3 separate regions of the Homo sapiens genome follow, and all the other regions are linked to region 2. Evidence: promoter capture Hi-C in 16 types of primary human blood cells and fetal thymus (Javierre and others, 2016). All regions are on one chromosome and are shown on one strand. The core of a region is centred on a gene start or on the middle of the fragment in contact, and the rest is flanking DNA. Distances in the headings are between cores, read along the strand shown.

Region 1 (3,236 bases), core at 455-2,954, 1.7 Mb before region 2:
CAATCTCGGCTCACTGCAAGCTCCGCTTCCCGGGTTCACGCCATTCTCCTGCCTCAGCCTCCCGAGTAGCTGGGACTACAGGCGCCCGCCACCGCGCCCGGCTAATTTTTTTTGTATTTTTAGTAGAGACGGGGTTTCACCTTGTTAGCCAGGATGGTCTCGATCTCCGACTTATTTTTAAAGTTCCCTAAATAAACCAACTTTTGAATAAAAATGGGCTTTTCATTTTAATAACACATACTCCTTGATGATAATGGTTTGATTCATTTCTCTTACAGAACTAATTTCTTCCTACTTCACACACATTAAATGCTTTGTTTATACTGATAATGTCGTGCTCATCCTAAATTAAAGTTTGACTATGTCTGTTTCCCCAGAGACACACCATCTGATTGGGATGCAGCCGTAGAGTAGCAGAAAGAGCAGTGAAGCTGGTATTAGAATGCCTGGATTACAGTGTTTGTTCTGTTACTTAGCAGCTGTGTGACTTTACTGTCTTAATGATATGGATTTTTGTGCTGCTGCCAAGTATGAAACAGTTTGGCACACTATTTAGATACGCAAAATATGTGATCCCCACAACATTTTAGTGAGTGTAAAGAAGATAGGATAGACCATTTAAAATGGAAAATTTTGAACAAAAGGTCACCATAGACTTGAATAAATTACTTAAACTTCTGAGACCCACTTTTGTCATGTAATAAAATAGATATAATGATACTTACCTCTCAGGATTAAGGGTTAACTGAAATATTGTATGTGAGGGTCTAGCTCAGTGTCTGGAAAATGGATGATGTTAATTAAGGTTTCCTTAGGTTGGAATGCTCCTTTCACCCCCTCCATCCGCCCCCTCCCCCAAAAAACACTCCAAAATTCAAACATGCATATTCTGATTCATCTTTTAAGGAAGAGCCCAAGAGGCACCATTCTACAAAATCTTTCCAAACAACTTCAGGCAGTACAGCCCTTTGGTTAAGAGTACTGGGCTTCTGGAATCAGAAGAGACCACCAAATTTAAAACCAGGTCTCCCATTTAGTAGCTCCCTGACACTGGACAAATTACTTATTTTCTCTGCACCTAGATTTCCCATCTGTAATATAAAATCATCATGATACATACCTCATAGGGTTGCAGAGGATTAAATGAGATATACATACAGAGCACTTAGCACAGTCCCTGAGTTAATAAGTCCTCCGTTAAGTATTACATAGGAGAAGTAGTAAAAAGTTTCCTCTTAAGTAAAATGCTAATAAAAGTGCTTACCCTGCCTCCCAAGATTGTGGCAAAGTTATGACGCAAGGCTTTTAAACTGTAATGCTGAACAAACGTAAGGGATTGGTATATACCTTGAGATATTTTGGACAAAGTTCTAACCTTACTTTTATACAATATGCTTTCTCTCACCCGCCTGCAGTTGGGTTAATAATGCCCAGCATTAATTAATAAGCAATAAAATCAGAAGATACCCCGAATACAAGTAGCTGACGCTCAGAGAGCAGTATTAAGGCGAGCACCCGCAGACCGGACCTGGATAACTCCTTGGAGTTCACCTCTAGCGGCCCCCTCCCCTTGGAGCTGCGCAAGCGTACACTGACTTTGCTCCTCTCTAGTGCCCCCGCCTCCAGCAGCCGCCCCCCCACCCCCCCGTCTGCCCAACACGCAGGCGCGTCTCCTCAAATCCTGTCCCTACACCCCTCCTCTTTCTCTTCATTTCGTTCCCCCTCCTCTTGCAGCACCTCGGCAGGTTCAAACTCTTCTCCGGGAGCGTGGCGGCGATCGCGAGGTCACGTGATGAGCATCCTGCTGCCCAACATGGCGGAGTTCGACACCATCTCGGAACTGGAGGAGGAGGAGGAAGAAGAAGCGGCAACGTCGTCGTCGTCGCCGTCGTCGTCGTCGTCGGTATCTGGGCCCGACGATGACGAGGAGGATGAGGAGGAAGAGGAGGAAGAGGAGGAGGAGGAAGAAGAGGAGGAGGAGGAAGAGGAGGAGGAAGCGCCGCCCCCGCCTCGGGTAGTGAGCGAGGAGCATCTGCGGAGATATGCTCCCGACCCTGTATTAGTGCGGGGTGCCGGCCACATCACTGTGTAAGCGAGAGGGGGTCTTGGGACTTGAAATGCCTGAGATTTGGCAACAGAGGAATGAGAAGTGATCGAGGGGCCTGTGGAGTGGGGGAGGGTTGACTGATTGACTGAGGCGTACACTTAGGAAAGGACACCTGGTCTAAATGGGGAAACCATGGGTGGATACGTGTGAAGGAAGTGAGGAGAATGTAAATATGATGCACCAATGCCAGGTAAAGAGTGAGTATAGGAGAGGGAAGTTAGGGGTTTGGGAGCCAGAGCGATTGGAGTAGGGGTGAGTCTCCTTTCTTGTATGTATGCTGGCAAGTGAACAGTCTCTAAACTGCAGGATGTACCAGAGGGTTTTTTGCTGACAAGATTGATACTTTGTGGGAAACAGCAATTGCTGTGACATGTGACAAGAACTAGGCTTGCATTCTTCAAAACAGAAACATGATATATTTTGTGAATAATAATAGAATGTTCATTCACCCACGTATTCATCCATCCATTCTTCCTATCGAATCCTTCCTTATATATCACTCGATTAGAGGTTCAGGATGAGAGGCAGCTATGGAAAGTAGAAAAAGAAATGGATTGAGTCAGGGCTCTTAGACGCTGGTCCCGGTTTTGCTTCTTACTGGCCCTGTGACCTTGGTCAGGTTGCTTTTTCTCATTTCTGCGCCTTGATTTCTTCATCTCTAAAATGAAGGGTTTGGAGTAGATGGTTTCTAAAGCTTTTCAGTTCTGAGATAATTTACCTCCAAGGGATTTTGTATGCCCAAGTATGAAATATACAGGCATTAAATATATATGGAAATTAATACTTTGGGAGCTGAGCATAATTTCTTTAAAATTTATCCAGGGTGGTTTTTTAAAAAATTGAAATCTTGAGGAAAAATTGAATATTTCAGAAAATAAAATGGGGAGGGACTTCATAACAGCTACAAGGCAAAAATGTTGATGATTCTCCGGGATTTAAAGAGTGCTTCCTCATTTTTATTTGCTTGGACCATAACTATTTGGAAGTTTGAGTACTGTGTCATGTTCATCCTCTGAACTATGCTATCTTTTACTGCATTTTCAAAATAGGTTGCCTTTTGTTGTTATGTCATGCTGCCTCTGGTTTTGATAATGGCTCACCTAGTCCCTTTGACTTTCAATTGAGTTCA
Region 2 (3,467 bases), core at 128-2,627:
GCACCTGTTCCCCAATAACCTATGGAAATAAAAAAAAAATTATAAAAAAATCTGTATAGGCATGTTAAAAAAAGGAAGGACAGAAATACCATTCAACTCAGCAATCCCATTACTGGGTATATACCCAAAGGAACATAAATTATTGTTTTATTAAAGACACATGCACACATATGTTAACTCCAGCACTATTTACAATAACAAAGACATGGAATCAACCTAACTACCCATTAATGATAGAATGGATAAAGAAAATGTGGTACATATACACCATGGAATACTATGCAACCATAAAAAATAATGAGATCATGTCCTTTGCAGGGACATGGATGGAGCTGGAGCCTATTATCCTTAGCAAACTAACACAAGAACAGAAAACCAAATGCTGCATGTTCTCACTTATAAGTGGGAGCTAAATGATGAGAACACATGGACACATAGTGGGGAACAACACACACTGGAGCCTACTGCAGAGTGCATGGTGTGAGAAGGGAGAGGATCAGGAAAGACAACTAGTGGGTACTAGGCTTAATACCTGGGCGATGAAATAATCTTTACAACAAGCCCCCATGACAGAAGTTAACCTATGTAACAAACCTGCACATATATCCCTGAACTTAAAAGTTAAAAAAAAAAAAAGATTCTTGTATCCCATCTCGGATCTACAGAATCACAATCTCAAAAATGAGCCGTAAGAACCTGCATTTTAACAAGCTCTACAATTATTGTGGTACATACTGATGTTTGAAAAGTACTGCCCTAGACACTCTTACCTCAGGCCGTTATAGTGAGTCCATACACTTAAAAATAAGCGTCTTTCCAAGTACTTTAAAGATTCAAAATGATAGTGGATCTGAAATGCCGCCTGAGTCCCCATGACAACGTGTACACTGTGGGGCCCAACCAATAAAGATAAGAAAAGCTTTGGCGGTCAAGCATACTTGGGAAGCTGCAGTTTCTAGAACAGTCTAGTAGAGGACAGCCTCTTCAGCAGCCTGCTAGGCATTTTTTTACTTCTTCCTTCTGTTATGCAGACAAGCTAACTGAAGATGCGGTTACTGAGATATAATTTCTCTGCTAGGTCACAAAGTCTGAAAACATGGGCCTTACGTGTGTAACTGTGTATCATCACCTGCCACCCCCAGTTTTTCCTGGCTCTACTAATCACCCAAAGTTCTGAATGCAGAAGCCCCAGGGGCCCCCGGAAGATCCTTCAAGCTGGCATCCTTGGCCTCGCTGCGGGGGCTTAGCTACCTGTGGGAACCCACGTAGCAAGGGTGACTCAAAGGGTTAACAAGCAGTGGCGCCGCAGAGTGGCGGGGAGTGCAGCCAATAGGGTGTCTAGGCAGGCAGTACGTCTGGTGTGGGCGGGAGTGAGCCAAAGTGTGCTAAAGGAAACCAACAGCGGCCTAGGGGTGAAAGGACAGCCAGGGTTAGATGTTCTGAGGAGGCGGGAGCAACCGAGAGAGCACGTGAGCATCTGTCCTTTCTACCCGTTCCTCTTTATCTTTAGTGTTCAGTAGCAGCGGGGATAGCCCGGGGCCCGGTGTATGGCCACGGAGTTACAGTGTCCGGACTCCATGCCCTGTCACAACCAGCAAGTAAACTCTGCCTCAACCCCAAGTCCCGAGCAGCTGCGACCTGGCGATCTGATCCTGGACCACGCAGGGGGAAACAGAGCCTCCAGGGCCAAGGTGATTCTCCTCACGGGGTACGCCCATTCTAGCCTGCCGGCCGAGCTGGACTCTGGGGCCTGCGGCGGCTCCAGCCTCAACTCAGAGGGCAACAGTGGTAGTGGTGACAGTAGCAGCTATGACGCACCAGCTGGCAACTCCTTCCTAGAGGACTGCGAACTCTCCCGGCAGATCGGGGCGCAGCTTAAGCTGCTGCCTATGAATGATCAGATACGGGAGCTACAGACCATCATCCGTGACAAGTAAGCCAAGAGCGGAAGGGGAAAGGGAAGTGGAGGGTCTTGCAGGCTGTGGGCGGGGATTGGAAGTAAAAGGGCTAAGAGACAGTGTTCTTGGCCTTGGCAAACTTTGGAGATTGGGGTAAGACCTTTTATTTGGTGTGTGTGTGTGTGTGTGTGTGTGTGTGTGTGTGTGTGTGTCGTGTAACTCGAACGCCAACCTTCTCTTTCCAAGTTCCGGTGTCTAACATCACTTTGGGTGGGGAGGAAGACTTTAGGTAGCCTCTGGGCTCTTTGTCTCTCCCAGGAAAGACAACTCCTTGGCCATTCCAGGCAGGTAAACTCCCCTATACTATGTGGGCAGTGCTTGTCCACATGGTAAACCTATAACCCAGAAATGGTTACTATCCAAGGTTATGCACTACCACCAATCACCTCAGGTTCATAAATAGAAATAAAGCAATTTCAAGGAAATTCTATTCAGGCCCTGACCCTTTAGTATTTGCTACTGCAAACAAGGTCTTTTAGTCTTGGAGTTCAGGTTTACTTGATCACATGAAAGCTTATCGTCCAACTCTTATCATTTTTCACTGTAAACTCACAGAACATAGTTAATGGATCAAAGGGAGCCTAAAGGAGCCTTTGGCCCTTCCTAATCCCACAAACCAATGTAGCCAGAACTTCATGTTAAAATGTAATTTTGAAATTTCTAAACCTACGTTGTAAATGGGTTTTCTCCAGGGAAATATGTACCATGATGAACTACAGCTATTTTCTTTATTGGCAGCACTTTAAATGAGCAGCATATCAAAACACCCCTTTTTTAGTGGCAGGGGTTGGGGGGACATGCCTTGATCTTTTAAAAATGGCTACTGAATGACAGATGCCACTCCCTAAACCAGACTCTAGAAACCTTGTCTTACACTATTGTAATAATACTGTTTCTCTGCTTGCAGTTTTTCCTCTCTTCCACATGCACCCATACATTACTGTACAATCAATCTTCATAACATACATCTTTGATTCAGTAATTGCCCTACTCAGCAACCTTCTTTGGCTTCTCAGAGCCTACCAAATAAAGTCCAGGATCCTTAGCTTGATTGATATTTTTGAGACAGGATCTTTCTCTGTCACCCAGGCTGGAGTGCAGTGGTGAGATCACAGCTTACTGTACCCTCATACTTCTGGGCTCAAGTAATCCTCCTGCCTTAGCCTCCTGAGTAGCTGGGACTACAGGGACATGGCACTGCCCCCCGGCTAATTTTTTATTTTTTTGTAGAGATGGAGGTCTTGCTATATTGTCCACGATGGTCTTGAACTCCTGGCCTCAAGCAATCCTCGTGCCTCGGCCTCCTAAAATGTTGGGATTACAGGTGTGAGCCACCATGCCTGGCCCCCTTAGCTTGGGATGAAGGCCCTTCTTCATAGTTCCTAGGAACAATTCTGAAACATATCTGTTTCTGCTCTCATCTGGAATTCCCTGTGTCTCCTTTATGTACGTTCAGGATACTTATTCTTCAGGGTGAAACACAGCATTAAATAATTGTCCACCTCTGCC
Region 3 (3,481 bases), core at 100-2,599, 1.3 Mb before region 2:
ACCTAGCACAGTGCCTTGGATAAAGACACTTCTTACGATTCTTTTTCTTTTTCCCCTCTCCGATTTGAATGTAATCTCCTTGAAGATTAATACTGGATTGCATTCATCACCCACTTGTGTAGTCTTATTCTTTACATGTAAGTTCTTAATGAATGAATAAATTCTGTTATATCTGTTCTCCCACATGCCACCGCAAATTGTACTTTTTTATTTTATTTTATTTTATTTTTGAGATGGTTTCACTCTTGTTCCAACTCATGTTTCAAATGAATTTGTTCTAGTGTAACTCAGCATCTATCATTTTAGCTGTTAAGACTGTTACTCATTTATTTGTCTTAAATTGTGAATGCAAAGATAACATGAACTATTGTCCCAGGGGTCATTGCCTTTGTAAATTTGTTTGTAAAATTTCCAAATAAGAGCCCTTTCTAAGCAAGTGCCTGCCAAATATGGCTGGATGATGGTAAAATCCCAACTCTCCTTTCACCTATTTGGATTTTATATTCTTTCAGGAGGCAGCTTTCTTACCTTTGGAACAATTACTTATGTAAGAGGAAAAGTGGGTTTCCACAGAGAATGAAATAGGTACTAGCTAGTTCAGTAGTCCAGGAAGCTACCAAGATCAGTCTTCAAGAGGAAATATTGTAACCTGGCAACCAAACTCTGTCTCTGGTGTTTTCTGGAGGCATTTTTCTTAAGTTGGAATTGAGGCAGGTAGACTAGGGGAAATGTGAGTGAGTGGAGGCAGGGGCATGAAGCTTGCACCGTGGCTGTGAATTAATATAGCTTTTCTGTCCCTGGGTCTCTGGGTCTAGCACTTTTCAATTCGAAACATTACCAAATAAAACCAGTGCATCAATTTGTTAAAAAAAAAAAATTGACTGGCAGCTTTATAAGCCTATTTCTCGAATAATGCTTCCTGCTGATTATTTCTTTATATGTGTATTTAAAAAATTCAGCCAGGCACGGTGGCTCATGCCTGTAATCCCAGCACTTTGGGAGGCCAAGGCGGGTGGATCACCTGAGGTCAGGAGTTCGAGACCAACCTGACCAATACGGTGAAACCTCGTCTCTACTAAAAATACAAAAATTAGCCAGGTGTGGGGGCCTGCGCCTGTAGTCCCAGCTACATGGGAGGCTGAGACAGGAGAATCGCTTGAACCCGAGAGAGGAGAGGCAGAGGTTGCAGTGAGCCGAGTTTGCGCCACTGCACTCCAGCCTGGGTGACAGAGTGAGACTCTGTCTCAAAAAAATAAAAAAAATAAATAAATAAAAAGTCATTTTCCTCCCAAACAGACAAAGTCCCAAGAGTCATCAGAACAAAACTGCAATAGATTTCATTTTTTTTTTTTTTGAGACGGAGTCTTGCTCTGTCGCCCAGGCTGGAGTGCAGTGGCGCTATCTCGGCTCACTGCAACCTCCGCCTCCTGGATTCAAGTGATTATCTCGCCTCAGCCTCTCGAGTAGCTGGGATTGCAGGTGCCCACCGCCACATCCAGCTAATTTTTGTATTGCTGTAATTGTTGGCCAGTCTGGTCTCAAACTCCTGATCTCAGGTGATCCGCCCACCTCGGCCTCCCAAAGTGCTGGGATTACAGGCATGAGCCACCGTGCCCGGCAGGTTTCACTCATTTTTATCCCCCTTTCTACTTACCATTAAATTACTACAGAGGGATGTTTTGTACCTGCCCCAAAATAAATGCATGGTGTGCTACTGCCAAAAGAAAATATGACAGAATTTACAGTCATATTTGCCTCCTCTGCAACATTCAGACTTGATCCTTCTTTTACCCTACATTGTCTATCTGATTCCCTACTCTTTTAGTACTAGTTCTTTCTTAGGAGCTCAACAGTTCCTTTTGCAATTGGTTTTTGGTGCCTGTCCTACAAATTTCCAAGATGTGCTCAAATATGCCTAAACCCTAGGAGATGAAACAGTTTAAGCTTAGAGACCTCTCCACCTCTATTACTGACCTTTGAACACGTAACTGGTTTTATGTGGTGTTTTTGGTGTTTTACTCCAAAATGTCCATATGTCAATGCCCAGATGTTTTATACAACTGTGTATCATTACCTTCCTTTTGAGGGTGACGATATCAAAATAAAGACAGAAAAGTAATGATGCAAATGAATAGAATAAGAGGTGTTCTATGTGGGGGTCTCGTAGAAAACCAGAGACAACATTAGTGCATAGAGAGAAACTATAGCTTTGGAAAGGGATTAGGACCTCTAAAGTGTCTTTTCCTTACCGGTGAAGCACAAGCCTTCCCCCAGAAACCTGCACCACTCACACATAATGCTTCACAAACAAGTTTTGGCCTCGGTTTTTTCATACTTTTGGGGCTGGTATCCAGCTAGTGTATTTTCCCTCATGGAGCGGGAACAACAGAGATAAAGGTTTTGATAAATATAGAGGCCTCTTAGAAGTGTCAGGACTGAATCTAAAAGAGCTGAATCTAAAAGAAGAGGGAGGCTGGGTGCGGTGGCTCACGCCTATAATACCAGCACTTTGGGAGGCTGAGGCGGGTGGATCACTTGAGGTCAGGAGTGCAAGACCAGCCTGGCCATGATGGTGAGACCCCCGTCTCTAGTAAAAATTAGCTGGACATGGTGGCAGATGCCTGTAATCCCAGCTACTTAGGAGGCTGAGGCTGGAGAATCGCTTGAACCCAGGAGGCGGAGGTAGCACCGAGCCAAGATCGCGCCACTGCACTCCAGCCTGGGCGACAGAGCAAGACTCCGTCTCAAAAAAATAAAACAAAAATAAATAAAAGAAGAGGGAAGATGGAAGGACTTTTAGGCTCAAGAGCAGCATCTCAACTCTTTTTTTTTTTTTTTTTTTTTGAGACGGAGTCTGGCACGGTCGCCCAGGCTGGAATGCAGCAGCACGATCTCAGCTCACTGCAACCTCCGCCTCCCGGGTTCAAGCGATTCTCCCACCTCAGCCTCCCAAGTAGCTGGGATTACACTGAGATTACAGGCAAGCGCCACCACACCTGGCTACCAACTCTTTTATGAAGACTCTTTTGTTTACAGAATTAAAGGAAGCACCTTGTTCTGAATCCAGTTTTGCCATTGACGGACTCACTGTATGACTAGGCCAAAACCCTCTGGTTTCTGTTTTCCCATTAGTTGGTTGAAGTACATACACCCTCATCTATCGGAACACGGGGCTTAGTAAAGTGAAAAGAAGTAGGTTCTAGCTCATTCTAGCACTTTTGGAAAATTGGGTCACCTCTTTGGGCCTTAATTTCGTCATCTATAAAACAGGAAAAAATCAGTCCTCAGCTTACCTGATGTTGCAATGACTTAGTGAGATAACAGAAGTGAATGGCAGCTTTGTCTATCATACTTGTGAGGTAAAGTTAATGAGAGTGAGAGATCTGGAAATAGGGAAGAAAGAAAGGAGTCGAGGCAAAGCTAAAAGAAATTTGGGTTGGGAAAGGAAAAAAGAAATGAAGAGAAAGAAAAAGGAAAAGGG

Evidence for each region. Contacts are between HindIII fragments. The CHiCAGO score rates a contact against its expected background, and 5 or more counts as called.
Region 1: the fragment with the promoter of CHIC1 here is called in contact with the fragment with the promoter of UPRT in region 2 in 2 of 17 cell types (non-activated CD4 T cells and fetal thymus); the score reaches 11.9 in non-activated CD4 T cells.
Region 3: a fragment that was not itself captured here is called in contact with the fragment with the promoter of UPRT in region 2 in 1 of 17 cell types (total B cells); the score reaches 5.6 in total B cells.

What each region holds. Positions count from the first base shown.
Region 1 is chrX:73,561,493-73,564,728 of GRCh38, forward strand. CHIC1 (cysteine rich hydrophobic domain 1) reads left to right here and starts at 1,705. Exons shown (of 6, transcript NM_001039840.4): 1 at 1,705-2,088. The coding sequence starts at 1,793. It also overlaps the pseudogene MAP2K4P1. RefSeq lists a silencer at 1,625-1,684. The HindIII fragment of the contact is 6,151 bases long and covers 1-2,799 here.
Region 2 is chrX:75,272,708-75,276,174 of GRCh38, forward strand. It overlaps UPRT (uracil phosphoribosyltransferase homolog), which reads left to right and starts at 1,378. Exons shown (of 7, transcript NM_145052.4): 1 at 1,378-1,933. The coding sequence starts at 1,548. It overlaps LOC124905200 (a long non-coding RNA gene), which reads right to left and starts at 1,329. Exons shown (of 4, transcript XR_007068269.1): 1 at 771-1,329. RefSeq lists enhancers at 1,269-1,318, 1,339-1,388, 1,549-1,758. The HindIII fragment of the contact is 1,552 bases long and covers 918-2,469 here.
Region 3 is chrX:73,940,623-73,944,103 of GRCh38, forward strand. No RefSeq gene overlaps it. Among named protein-coding and RNA genes, the nearest start is that of JPX, 2.0 kb to the right of the region's middle. The HindIII fragment of the contact is 1,186 bases long and covers 757-1,942 here.